Regions from separate parts of the Homo sapiens genome. Here region 1 is linked to region 2. The links are contacts of gene promoters, found by promoter capture Hi-C in human tissues and cell types (Jung and others, 2019). All regions are on one chromosome and are shown on one strand. Each heading gives the region's core, a stretch centred on a gene start or on the middle of the fragment in contact. The rest is flanking DNA. Distances are from core to core; before and after follow the strand shown. Region 1 overlaps TEKT1 (tektin 1). Region 2 holds the start of XAF1 (XIAP associated factor 1).

What was found. Contacts are between HindIII fragments. The study calls those that stand out against the background at their distance.
Region 1: a fragment that was not itself captured here is called in contact with the fragment with the promoter of XAF1 in region 2 in 1 of the 25 tissues and cell types used here (bladder).

Annotation. Positions count from the first base shown.
Region 1 is chr17:6,816,321-6,821,711 of GRCh38, forward strand. It overlaps TEKT1 (tektin 1), which reads right to left. Exons shown (of 8, transcript NM_053285.2): 3 at 2,873-3,038. Among named protein-coding and RNA genes, the nearest start is that of TEKT1, 13 kb to the right of the region's middle. The HindIII fragment of the contact is 6,754 bases long and covers 1-5,391 here.
Region 2 is chr17:6,753,445-6,759,095 of GRCh38, forward strand. It overlaps XAF1 (XIAP associated factor 1), which reads left to right and starts at 2,602. Exons shown (of 7, transcript NM_017523.5): 1 at 2,602-2,666; 2 at 4,645-4,780. The coding sequence starts at 2,635. RefSeq lists an enhancer at 2,259-2,778. The HindIII fragment of the contact is 6,790 bases long and covers 1-4,556 here.

The sequences.
Region 1 (5,391 bases), core at 1,160-3,659, 63 kb after region 2:
TGCTGCACCCATCAACTCATCATTTATATTATGTATTTCTCCTAATGCTATCCCTCCCCCAGCCCCCCACACCCTGACAGGCCCCGGTGTGTGATGTTCCCTGCCCTTTGTCTAAGTGTTCTCATTGTTCAATTCCCACCTATGAGTGAGAACATGCAGTGTTTGGTTTTCTGTCCTTGTGATAGTTTGCGCAGAATGATGGTCTCCAGCTGCATCCATGTCCCTGCAAAGGACATGAACTCTTCCTTTTTTATGGCTGCATAGTATTCCATGGTGTATATGTGCCACATTTTCTTAATCTAGTCTATTACTGATGGACATTTGGGTTGGTTCCAAGTCTTTGCTATTGTGAATAGTGCCACAATAAACAAACGTGTGCATATGTCTTTATAGTAGCATGATTTATAATCCTTTGGGTATATACCCAGTAATGGGATTGCTGGGTCAAATGGTAATTCTAGTTCTAGATCCTTGAGGAATCACCACACTGTCTTCCACAATGGTTGCACTAATTTACCCTCCCACCAACAGTGTAAAAGCATTCCTATTTCTCCACATCCTCTCCAGCATCTGTTGTTTCCTGACTTTTTAATGGTTGCCATTCTAACTAGCATGAGATGGTATCTCATTGTGGTTTTGATTTGCAGCCAGATGGACTTTTTTTCCCAAGAAGAGGAAAGTTTTAAATAATAATAATAAATTCAAAGACTTGTTTCCTTCCTTGATCCTCATTCAGTGTTTAGACAAACAATTGAACATAGAAAGATGTTTTAGGGTGGGCGCAGTGACTCACGCCTGTAATCCCAGCATTTTGGGAGGCTGAGGCAGGTGGATCGCCTGAGGTCGGGAGTTGGAGACCAGCCTGGCCAACATGGAGAAACCCCGTCTCTACTAAAAACACAAAATTAGCCAAGAGTGGTGGTGCATGCCTGTAATCCTAGCTACTCAGGAGGCTGAGGCAGGAGAATCATTTGAACCCGGGAGGTGGAGGTTTCGGTGGGCCGAGATTGCACCATTCCACTCCAGCCTGGGCAACAAGAGCGAAACTCCATCTCAAAAAAAATTTTAAAAGATGTTTATAGTAATAATAACTATTAATAATAATAACACCAATAGTAATATTGCCTCTGCCAGTGAGCACTTACTCCATGACAGGCATTGTGCTGAGCTTTATTAATATATAAACATTCTTTCTTAGCCCTTTCAAGTACAGATGGGGAAACTGAGTTTCAGAGAGACTAAGTGATCTACCCAGTGTCACAGAACTGTGTGCCACATGTGCTTCTAGCCAAGATGCCATCCTCCTCCCAAACTGACCCTGCTACACAACGTTTTGCTCTTTTTCAACCTGCATGATAGTGCTTGGAAAGGAGGTTCCCCTACTCACTAGCTGGGTGCCCTTAGCCACTATATAACCTACCTGTGCCTTGGTTTCCTTTTCTGTAAAATGGGGGTAATTATTAGTACTTCATAGGATTGTGGCACACTACAAATGAGCTATAAAAGCATAAGCTACAGTACCTGGCACATAGTACATGCTCAGTAAACTTAGCAGCCTCTACGTTATCATTATCCTCAGGCTTAGACTTGAGCCAACTGGGTGTTGAGCTCTTTGATGAGCTGCTATTTCTCTTTGCTTCATAGATTTCTAAATCTGGCTGGGGAGACTGCTGCCTGGTTCCTGCAACGGGTCCTGTTTAAGCTTATGGAAGGAACAGGGCTTTCCAGGAAGACAGGGGCATGGTGCATTTGAGAAACTGCAAGTAGCTCCACACACCTAAGCACATCCCACTACTGGGGACAAGATATGGATCCAGAGAGGTCACTGGGGGCCCTATCATGATGAACCTTGGTTTGCTAAGCTAAGAAGCTTAAAATTTATCTTGAAGCCATTGGGGTTTGAAGGATTCTAAGCATGGCGGTGACCGGGAAAAATCTGCATTTGGAAAAGTTCACTCAACAGCCAGTGTGCAGGGTGCACTAGATTATAGGGGACTATGCTAACAGCAAGAAGACCTGTTAGGGCACTCCAGCTAGGTCTGCGGCAGAACCCAGGTCTGGAAACCAGCATCACCCCAGAGTAGAAAGGATCATTCTATTCACTGGATTTATAGGAGGGAAATAATAATAAAAAGCACTATGTTCCTATAGTGCTGTCTGGATTACAAAGTGCTTCCGTGTGGCTCTGCATGGGAGAGACATACTGTCCCCTGGGAGCTGTAGTGTCTGTTCTCACCTTCTTCCTTGGCAACAGAACCCCTGGTTTTTTGGCTGAGCACCTGGCTGCCCAAAGTAAAACCAATCATTTCCCAGCATCTGTTGGTGTGGCCATGTGATTAAGTTCTGTCAATAGGATGCAAATAGAAATGATGAATGCCAGACCCCACTTACTCCTACTTGCTGGAATGTAGACATAATGGCTGGAGCTCCAGCTGCCAACTTAAACCACAAGGTAACATTAGGAGTGAAAGCCATGTGCAGTAGAACAAGAAGATAGAAAAAGCCTGGAACCCTAAAACTGTGGCCCACCATTCCAACCCTGGACTGACTATCTCTAGACTCTTTGAATGTAAGAGAGAAAGAAATCGTTTTCTTTAAATTCAATATTATTTTAAAGTTTTCTGCTACCCACAGCCAAACCTAGTCCTAACATATTTGAGTTGAGTTAGTCAAGAGCAGAGTTGAGGCATGAACCAAGTCCAGTGCCCCTTGCACTGCCCAGCACCAGGGGCATGCTGGGATAACTTCAGGCTCTAAAAGAACACCTGCTCAAGTGCTGTGTTCTAACTCACCATCGCACACAGCCGGCATTTACTACCCAGCATCTCATTTGTCACAACACATGAATCATTTGAGGGACCTTCGCTCCTACCTGTATGCCAGGCATGTCTCAGTGATGTGCAAGGGCTCTTTCAAGGTCTCCAGGGCTTTTTCCAATCTGATCTTATATATGAGTAGATCATCAGTTACATTCACAAGCTGCTCAAGTTTGTCATCTAACTCCTTCTTCCAGAACTGGACTTCCTCGAGTCTCTGTTCTGAAGCACACGGGGAAGTTACACCAGGGCTAATCTATCCCAAGGTAGCCAACATTTGAATTAGAAACTTGAAGACTGTTGTAAAACCACCTGTGACATGCTCTTTTCCTCTTAGTGCTGTGCTATTTGGGGCATCTTTTCATCTTTTTAAATGTTTATTTGCAGGAAGGAAGGAAGATATATTTTCTTACAGTCCACATCAGATTTATCATTCTACACCCACTAGTTCTTCAGTGCCCACTGTTTTTAATAACTTTTAATTTTATCAAAGATATAAATGTGTGTTGTTAGAAAAGTCAAATAGTATCACAAAGAATTAAAACTCTCTGACCTGTCCCCATCCATTTGAGACGGAGTCTCACTGTGTCACCCAGGCTGGAGTGCAGTGGTGCAATCTCTGCTCACTGCAAGCTCTGCCTCCCAGGTTCATGCCATTCTCCTGTCTCAACCTCCCGAGTAGCTGTGACTACAGGCATCCGCCACCACACCCGGCTAATTTTTTGTATTTTTTAGTAGAGACTGGGTTTCACCATGTTAGCCAGGATGGTCTCGATCTCCTGACCTCGTGATCCGCCTGCCTCGGCCTCCCAAAGTGCTGGGATTACAGGTGTCAGCCACTGCGCCAGGCCCCTTATCACTTCTGACATTTGCTTATACTGCTATTCACTCATTATCAGTTTTGATATTATATGTTGATTTCCTGTGATGAAAGATAATGATTTGCTCTTAACCAACTCACACAACATACTTCCGTCTCCCAATATAGTTGTATCACCATTTTGTTAAACAATAAATAAGTAAACTTACTATTTATTTACATTTTGTAAATATATAAATGTTATTTACACCTGAGCCCTATCATACACTGTAATAAATTTCTTTTCTTACAAAATTTTCTGTTTTGGGGAGGAGTTAAAATGGCATTTTTGCTTCACTTTCTTTTTTAAATGATAATTAAAGGCAGATTTATTAGTCACCATGAGTAAAAAATGACTGATTATACTAGGAAAACAATTAAATATATATATATTTAATTGATAATGAGTAGTTCAGCATTTGAATCTTAAAGTCATAATGTACTGGTTGTAGTGTCAGTTTCCACTTCTGTAAGCTGACTCTGTTTTAAAAAAAAATGTTATTGTATATATTTGAGGTTTACAACATGACATTATGAGATAGTAAAATGGGTAGCATAGTGATTCCTTCAGTTTCTTTATATTATTAATTTTTTCTCAATATGCCCTCAATATATTCCAACCCATCAAGTAAGCTATCAATTTTCTTTCCTCCTTGGAGATGTCTCTCCTAGAGCATCTTCTCCTCCTGCTGGATGAGTTGCTCTCTAGTTTGCTGTGTAGCTGTCATCCTATGACTTTGCTTCCAGGAATCCCCTTCACTCTTCTCCTGTTGCTGTCCCGTTTCCTGGATTGTATTTCTTCCTCTTCCTTGATTTACTCTTTCAGTATGCTGAAGCATATCCTTCAGTAACTTCCTAAGAAATGGATGCATGTGAGGTAAAGTTTTTGAAAACCTGCAAGTCTGCAAATGTCTTTATTCTACCCTCGACATTTCATTCTATTTGGCTGTGCCCTGAGTTACAGTTTGTAACTCTTTTTTATTTGGAATTGTGATTGTGTCCCTCCATTTCCTTCTAATTTCCAGAGTTTCTGTTGAAAAGTCTGATGCCACTCTGATTCCTGATTCTTTGTATATGACCTGTTTTTTCCACTCTGAAAAATTTTAGTAATCTATTTTCCTAGGGTCCTGAAATTTCACACTGGTGTCAAACTTATTTAATTGTTGTGTCACATGCCAGATATACCCTTTGATATGGTTTGGCTCTGTGTCCCCACCCAAATCTCATCTCCAGCTGTTATCCTCACCTGTTGAGGGAAGGACTTGGTGGGAGATAATTGGATCATTGAGGCAGTTTCCCCCATGCTGCTCTCCTGATAGTGAGTGAGCTCTCTTGAGATCTGATAGTTTTATAAGGGTCTCTTCCCCCTTCATTTTCTCTTCTCTCTCCTGCCACCATGTGAAGAAGGTCCTTGTTTTCTCTTAGCCTTCCACCATGATTATAAGTTTCCTGAGGTCTCCCTAGCCATGTGGAACTGTGGGTCGATTAAACCTCTTTCCTTTATAAATTATCCAGTCTCAGGTATTTCTTTATAGCAGTGTGAAAATTGACTGATACAGAGAATTAGTACTGGAAGTGAGGCACTGCTATAAAGATAACCTGGAAATGTGGTAGTGACTTTGGAGCTGGGTTAACAGGCAGAGGTTGGGACAGTGTGGAGGGCTCAGAAGAAGACAGAAAGTTTTGGGAAAGTTTGGAACTTCCTAGAGACTTGTT
Region 2 (5,651 bases), core at 1,352-3,851:
ACAGCCGTGACAGTCAAAGAGAAACATTGCTGTATTTGTAACATTCCATTTTTTTAAAGAGTGTATATTCATATATTCTTTATGAAATCTAAGTTATCTTGAGAAATGAAAAGAAAATGGCCATTGCTGCCACTTTGAGAGCCCTCCGACTCAGGGGTGTTGTGTGGGTTGGGGGAGATTTCCAACTCCCTGCTTAATTATCTCAAAACACCCCATCCATTCGGGTCAGCCAGCATTTGACTGCCTGCTACTGCGAAGCTCAATACTGCACTCTGCCTAATAAGCACAAAGCCCGCGGGTCTCTCCAGGAAGGCAGGGGTGGTGGGTCAGAAAGAGCTGGCTCTCAAATCGCCCATGCCTGTGATTGGATGGGGAGGAGTTGAGACAATAGACACACAGCCAACTAACCAAAGCCAGAGACAAAGGAGGTAGATTCTAGATCAGTGTTGGCATAGGAGTTGGTCCTGAAGAACTGCTGGGATTTTGATGAGGAAGGGAAGGGTTGGCGTGGGTGGGACAGTCTATAGGAGGAAACATCTTGGAAGAAAATTAGGATGTAGATGAGAAGCAACTTATGGTCACTTCTAATTCCACTCCTATCCCCTGGCCACACATTCCATTCCTCTAAGGTGTCCAATCTATACACCCCTGCCACCACCCCTATCCCATCTCAGCAGGAGACAATATGTGAAAAGAAAGTTCTTCATTTTTCCTTCTTTTCCATTTCTTTCTTCCTGTCTTTCTTTCTTTTTTTTTTTTTTGTAACAGAGTCTCGCTCTGTCGCCCAGGCTGGAGTGCAGTGGCGCGATCTCGGCTCACTGCAGGCTCCACCCTGGGTTCACGCCATTCTCCTGCCTTAGCCTCCCGAGTAGCTGGGACTACAGGCACCCGCCACCTCGCCCGGCTAATTTTTTGTAGTTTTTAGCAGAGACGGGGTTTCACTGTGTTGGCCAGGATGGTCTCAATCTCCTGACCTCATAATCAACCCGCCTCGGCCTCTCAAAGGGCTGGGATTACAGGCATGAGCCACCGCGCACAGCCCTTTTTTTTTTTTTTTTTTTTTGAGACAGAGTCTCGTTCTGTTGCCCAGGCTGGAGTGCAGTGGTGCAATCTCGGCTCACTGCAACCTCCACCTCCTGGGTTCAAGCAATTCTCCTGCCTCAGCCTCCTGAGTAGCTGGGATTATAGGCAAGCACTACCATACCCAGCTAATTTTTGTATTTTTAGTAGAGACGGGGTTTCACCATGTTCGTCGGGCTGGTCTCGAACTCCTGACCTCGTGATCCGCCCACCTCGGCCTCCCAAAGTGCTGGGATTACAGGCATGAGCCACCAAGCCAAGCCCACTCGTTTTTCATTCTTGATATTGACAGACTGCCCAGAGACAGACAGGAGTGGGTAGTGAGGGTCAGAAGGATTAAGGAGCTTGCCTAGCCGATGAGGAAGGGAACAAGATAAGATGCAAACCTCAGTCTCTGACTCTCAGCCAAGTGCTCACTACCCCAACTAGCTGTCAAATGAGGTGGATGGGGCCTTGGTTAGGTACATAGACACCTGAGTCATATCAACCTGGTGTGAATCCCAGCTCTGATGTTGAGCGATTGGCCTAGCCTCTCTCTGCCTCCATTTTCTCTTTTTTCATTTCATTTTTCTTTTTTGAGGCAGAGTCTCACTCTGTCACTGCCTCTGTTTTCCATAGCAAAATGGAGTTAATAATGCTTACATGAGGGATTAAAACGAAGACAATGCCTACCTAATGCTTAGAATGGTGCCTGGAACATAGGAACAATGTTGAAACAGTCTTTCATTCTTCCCTCCTATCACTGTGATCATCAGTACCACCACACACTGCTTCTCATTTAGTGCCTGAATTTTAGAGCCTGCCTGGAGGCTGGAGCCCTGCCTGGACATTTCCCTTAATCTTGTTATCCTCCTCAGAGAGGCGGCACCCACCCCATTGGCAGACGCCACGGGAATTCTCTGGGCCTGCTTGTCATCACTCCAGATGTTGTTTAGAGTTCTTCTGTTAGCACAGCTGTTTCTAGGGTCTGGAAAAACTCTAAGGACCCCCAGGAGGATACACACCAGATTGGGTCTGGGCTCACACCACCCTGCATCCCCAGAGCCTCCCTGGACGCTGTTTGCAAGGTCCTCACCGCCTGGAAGTCCAGGAGCCATTTTTAGGGAACAGCATTCAAGCTCAACATGGCAAGTTCCCTCTTTCCTGCAGGGGAGGACCAGAAGGGAGCCGGAGATGGGGGAGAAGGGTGGGAGGTGGATGGTTTGGAAAAGGGATGGAGACCCAGACGGAGAGAAGCCAGCCAGCCAGGGTGAGGGAACAAGCTGCTGTGCTGCCCAGGAGAGGCCTGGCCTCAGGCTGCCAGCCTCAGGGAGGTAGATGCGGCTGTGACAGCAGCAAAGAATGACGGCCAAGGGCGACAGCAGGGGCTGGCCATGCTGTAAAGGGGCTTCTTGGGAGGGTCCAGCCTCAGGAATCAAGGGGAACTCCTGAGCCGAGAATTCTGAAGATCTCCTCCCTCCCTGAAGCTGTGGGCTGGGCCATCGGAAAACTTTCAGTTTTGTTTCCTTGCCTGCAAGAAACGAAACTCAACCGAAAGCCTGCAGAGAGCAGAACATGGAAGGAGACTTCTCGGTGTGCAGGAACTGGTAAGAAAGTGCTTTCTCCAGCGGCAGACCCGGGCTGGCGAGGGAGAGACGTAGACGACATAGGGCTGTTTCTGAAGGGAGCAGAAAGTGGTTCCTGCATAAGAACACTTAGGAGGACAAGCAGCTGGAGACCGTGGGCCCCAAGGGTAGGAGGGTTTAAACTTGGTAATCTCTGGGTGGGGGTGGGCAGCATTACCTCCACTTCACTGCAGCCCCTTTCCCCCAAATGTTAGGCTTTCTGGGACAGTTCTGAAGCCAAATAGCCCGGCCAGTGGTCCCAACTGGGCTACTCATACTTGTGAGACCTTGGGTCCTAATTTGGGGTTCTGATACTATGACCTTCACACCCATCTGTGAAAGAAAGTGTCCCACGGAGATTCTCCAGGACTACTCTCACCCTCCTTGGAAAGGGAGCCGTGGGGCGGGGCAGGGGGGACAGAGCAGGGGGCTGGGACCACACCTCTAACGGGAGGGGGGGCGCGGAATCTGACCGATCAAAAAGCCCCATTCTCAAAGCTCCCTACCTGTGACAGGGACCTGAGTGGACCCTCCCCAGAGAGCTTTGCTCCAGCCAGACCCTTCAAGTACTCTGGTTTCTCAACCAGCCCAGGAAGAGCAGGGGGAGAAGGGGCCAGGTCAGGCAGAGGAGAGAGAGCAGAGGAAGGGAAGATGATGCTGCCTGTGTGCCCGCTGCCTGGGCAGAAGAGGAGTGAGGCTTTGACAGTCCCTCTCGGAGCACGTCCCCTGTGCCAGGAACATGGGCATGTAACTCTTCTCGTCCCCTGGGCCTTTACGGCTACAGCCACCCCATTTCCCTTCTCCCAAGCTGCCACAAGCAAGAGCTGATGGAAATGAAAGGAGTCATTTCTTTCTTTCTTCTTCTTTTTTTTTTTTTTTTAAGATGGAGTTTCGCTTCTTTTTGCCCAGGCTGGAGTGCCTGGAGTGCAATGGCGCGATTTCAGCTCACTGCAACCTTCATCTCTCGGGTTCAAGTGATTCTCCTGCCTCAGCCTCCCGAGTAGTTGGGATTACAGGCGTGCACCGCCATGCCCGGCTAATTTTGTATTGTTTTAGTAGAGATGAGGTTTCACCATGTTGGCCAGGCTGATCTCTAACTCCTGACCTCAGGTGATCCACCCGCCTCGGCCTCCCAAAGTGCTGGGATTACAGGCATGAGCCACCACACCCAGCCAAAAGGGGGCACTTCTTGGCAAAAAGGACGGTTAGAGAAAAATGCCCTGCCCAGGAAGTGGGAGGCTCAGAACCCTTCCTTCACTGTGGTCTCCAGGAAGAACCTCGGAGTCTCTGTGAGTTAGCGCAGGTGAACCTGAAGGCAGGGGAGACTTGGGAAGCTCTCGCTTTGGAGATTTTGGAAGTTGGCATGGCCCTGGCAGGAAGCGTGAGCCTAGCAGGGCTGCGTTCCTAACACTGTGGACCAAACAGGGGCACCAGAAAACAAGAAAAAAGATTCAAGAGAATTTGGCACTTCTCTCAAATTATTTAAATTGAAATAATTTAATTATTTACATTATTTAAAATGAAATGTTTCATTTTAAAAACAGCCTTATAGAGGTATAATTGACCTACAATAAACCTCACATTTTAAAGGGTAGCAATTGATAAGTTTTGGCCTAAGTTATATACATCCATGAAACACCATCCCCGTAATTGAGATAATGAAGCTTCCTGTCACCCCAAAAGCTCCCCATGCCCCTTTGTAATTCCTCCCTCCTGCTCCTTCCCATGCCCTGCCCCAGCAATGTAAGAGCTCTGTAGATCATCCTTATTCTTATTAGATGCTGCCTCACTGTTCTGACTTTTGGACCCACACAGGGAGTGTGGGGCAGGTGGTGTCATCATCATCACATGTTCAGTGCTTAAGGCCTCTGGAGATCTAGCCCTGGGTATGAAATACAGCTCCATGTTTTATAATATGAAAATAAGTCTATTTTTCTATCCCCACACCTTGACCCTGTAGTAAAAGACATGTAGTCTCTGCCAACTTCACCCTCCATGAGGCTTACTGCCTGCGGTTCCTGGTCCTGTGTCCGGAGTGTGAGGAGCCTGTCCCCAAGGAAACCATGGAGGAGCACTGCAAGCTTGAGCACCAGCAGGTGAGGAGGCGGCAGGGAGGATGGGGTCTGAGAGTCAAGGTGAGTGTTCAGTCCTCCCTGCAGGTGAGATGGGGTCTGAGAGTTGGGGGACGAGGGTCTAGTCCTCCCTGCAGGTGAGATGGGGTCTGGGAGTCAAGGCAAGTGTTCAGTCCTCTCTGCAGGAGAGATGGGGTCTGAGAGTCAAGGCGAGTGTTCAGTCCTCTCTGCAGGTGAGATGGGGTCTGAGAGTCAAGGCAAGTGTTCAGTCCTCTCTGCAGGTGAGATGGGGTCTGGGAGTCAAGGCGAGTGTTCAGTCCTCTCTGCAGGACAGATGGGGTCTGAGAGTCAAGGCGAGTGTTCAGTCCTCTCTGCAGGTGAGATGGGGTCTGGGAGTCAAGGCGAGTGTTCAGTCCTCCCTGCAGGTGAGATGGGGTCTGGGAGGGGCAAGTGTTCCATCTTCCCTGCAGGAGAGATGGGGTCTGGGAGTCACAGAGTGGGTCCAGTCCTCCCTGCAGGAGAGATGGGGTCTGAGAGTTGGGGGACGAGGGTCTAGTCCTCCCTGCAGGTGAGATGGGGTCTGGGAGTCAAGGAGAGTGTTCAGTCCTCCCTGCAGGTGAGATGGGGTCTGGGAGGGGCAAGTGTTCCATCTTCCCTGCAGGAGAGATGGGATCTGGGAGTCACAGAGTGGGTCCAGTCCTCCCTGCAGGAGAGATGGGGTCTGAGAGTTGGGGGACGAGGGTCCAGTCCTCCCTGCAGGTGAGATGGGGTCTGGGAGGGGCAAGTGTTCCATCCTCCCTGCAAGAAAGAAGGGGTCTGGGAGTCAGGGAATGGCTCCAGTCCTCCCTGCAGGAGAGATGGGGTCCGGGAGTTGGGGTGAGGGCTGGGGACTTAA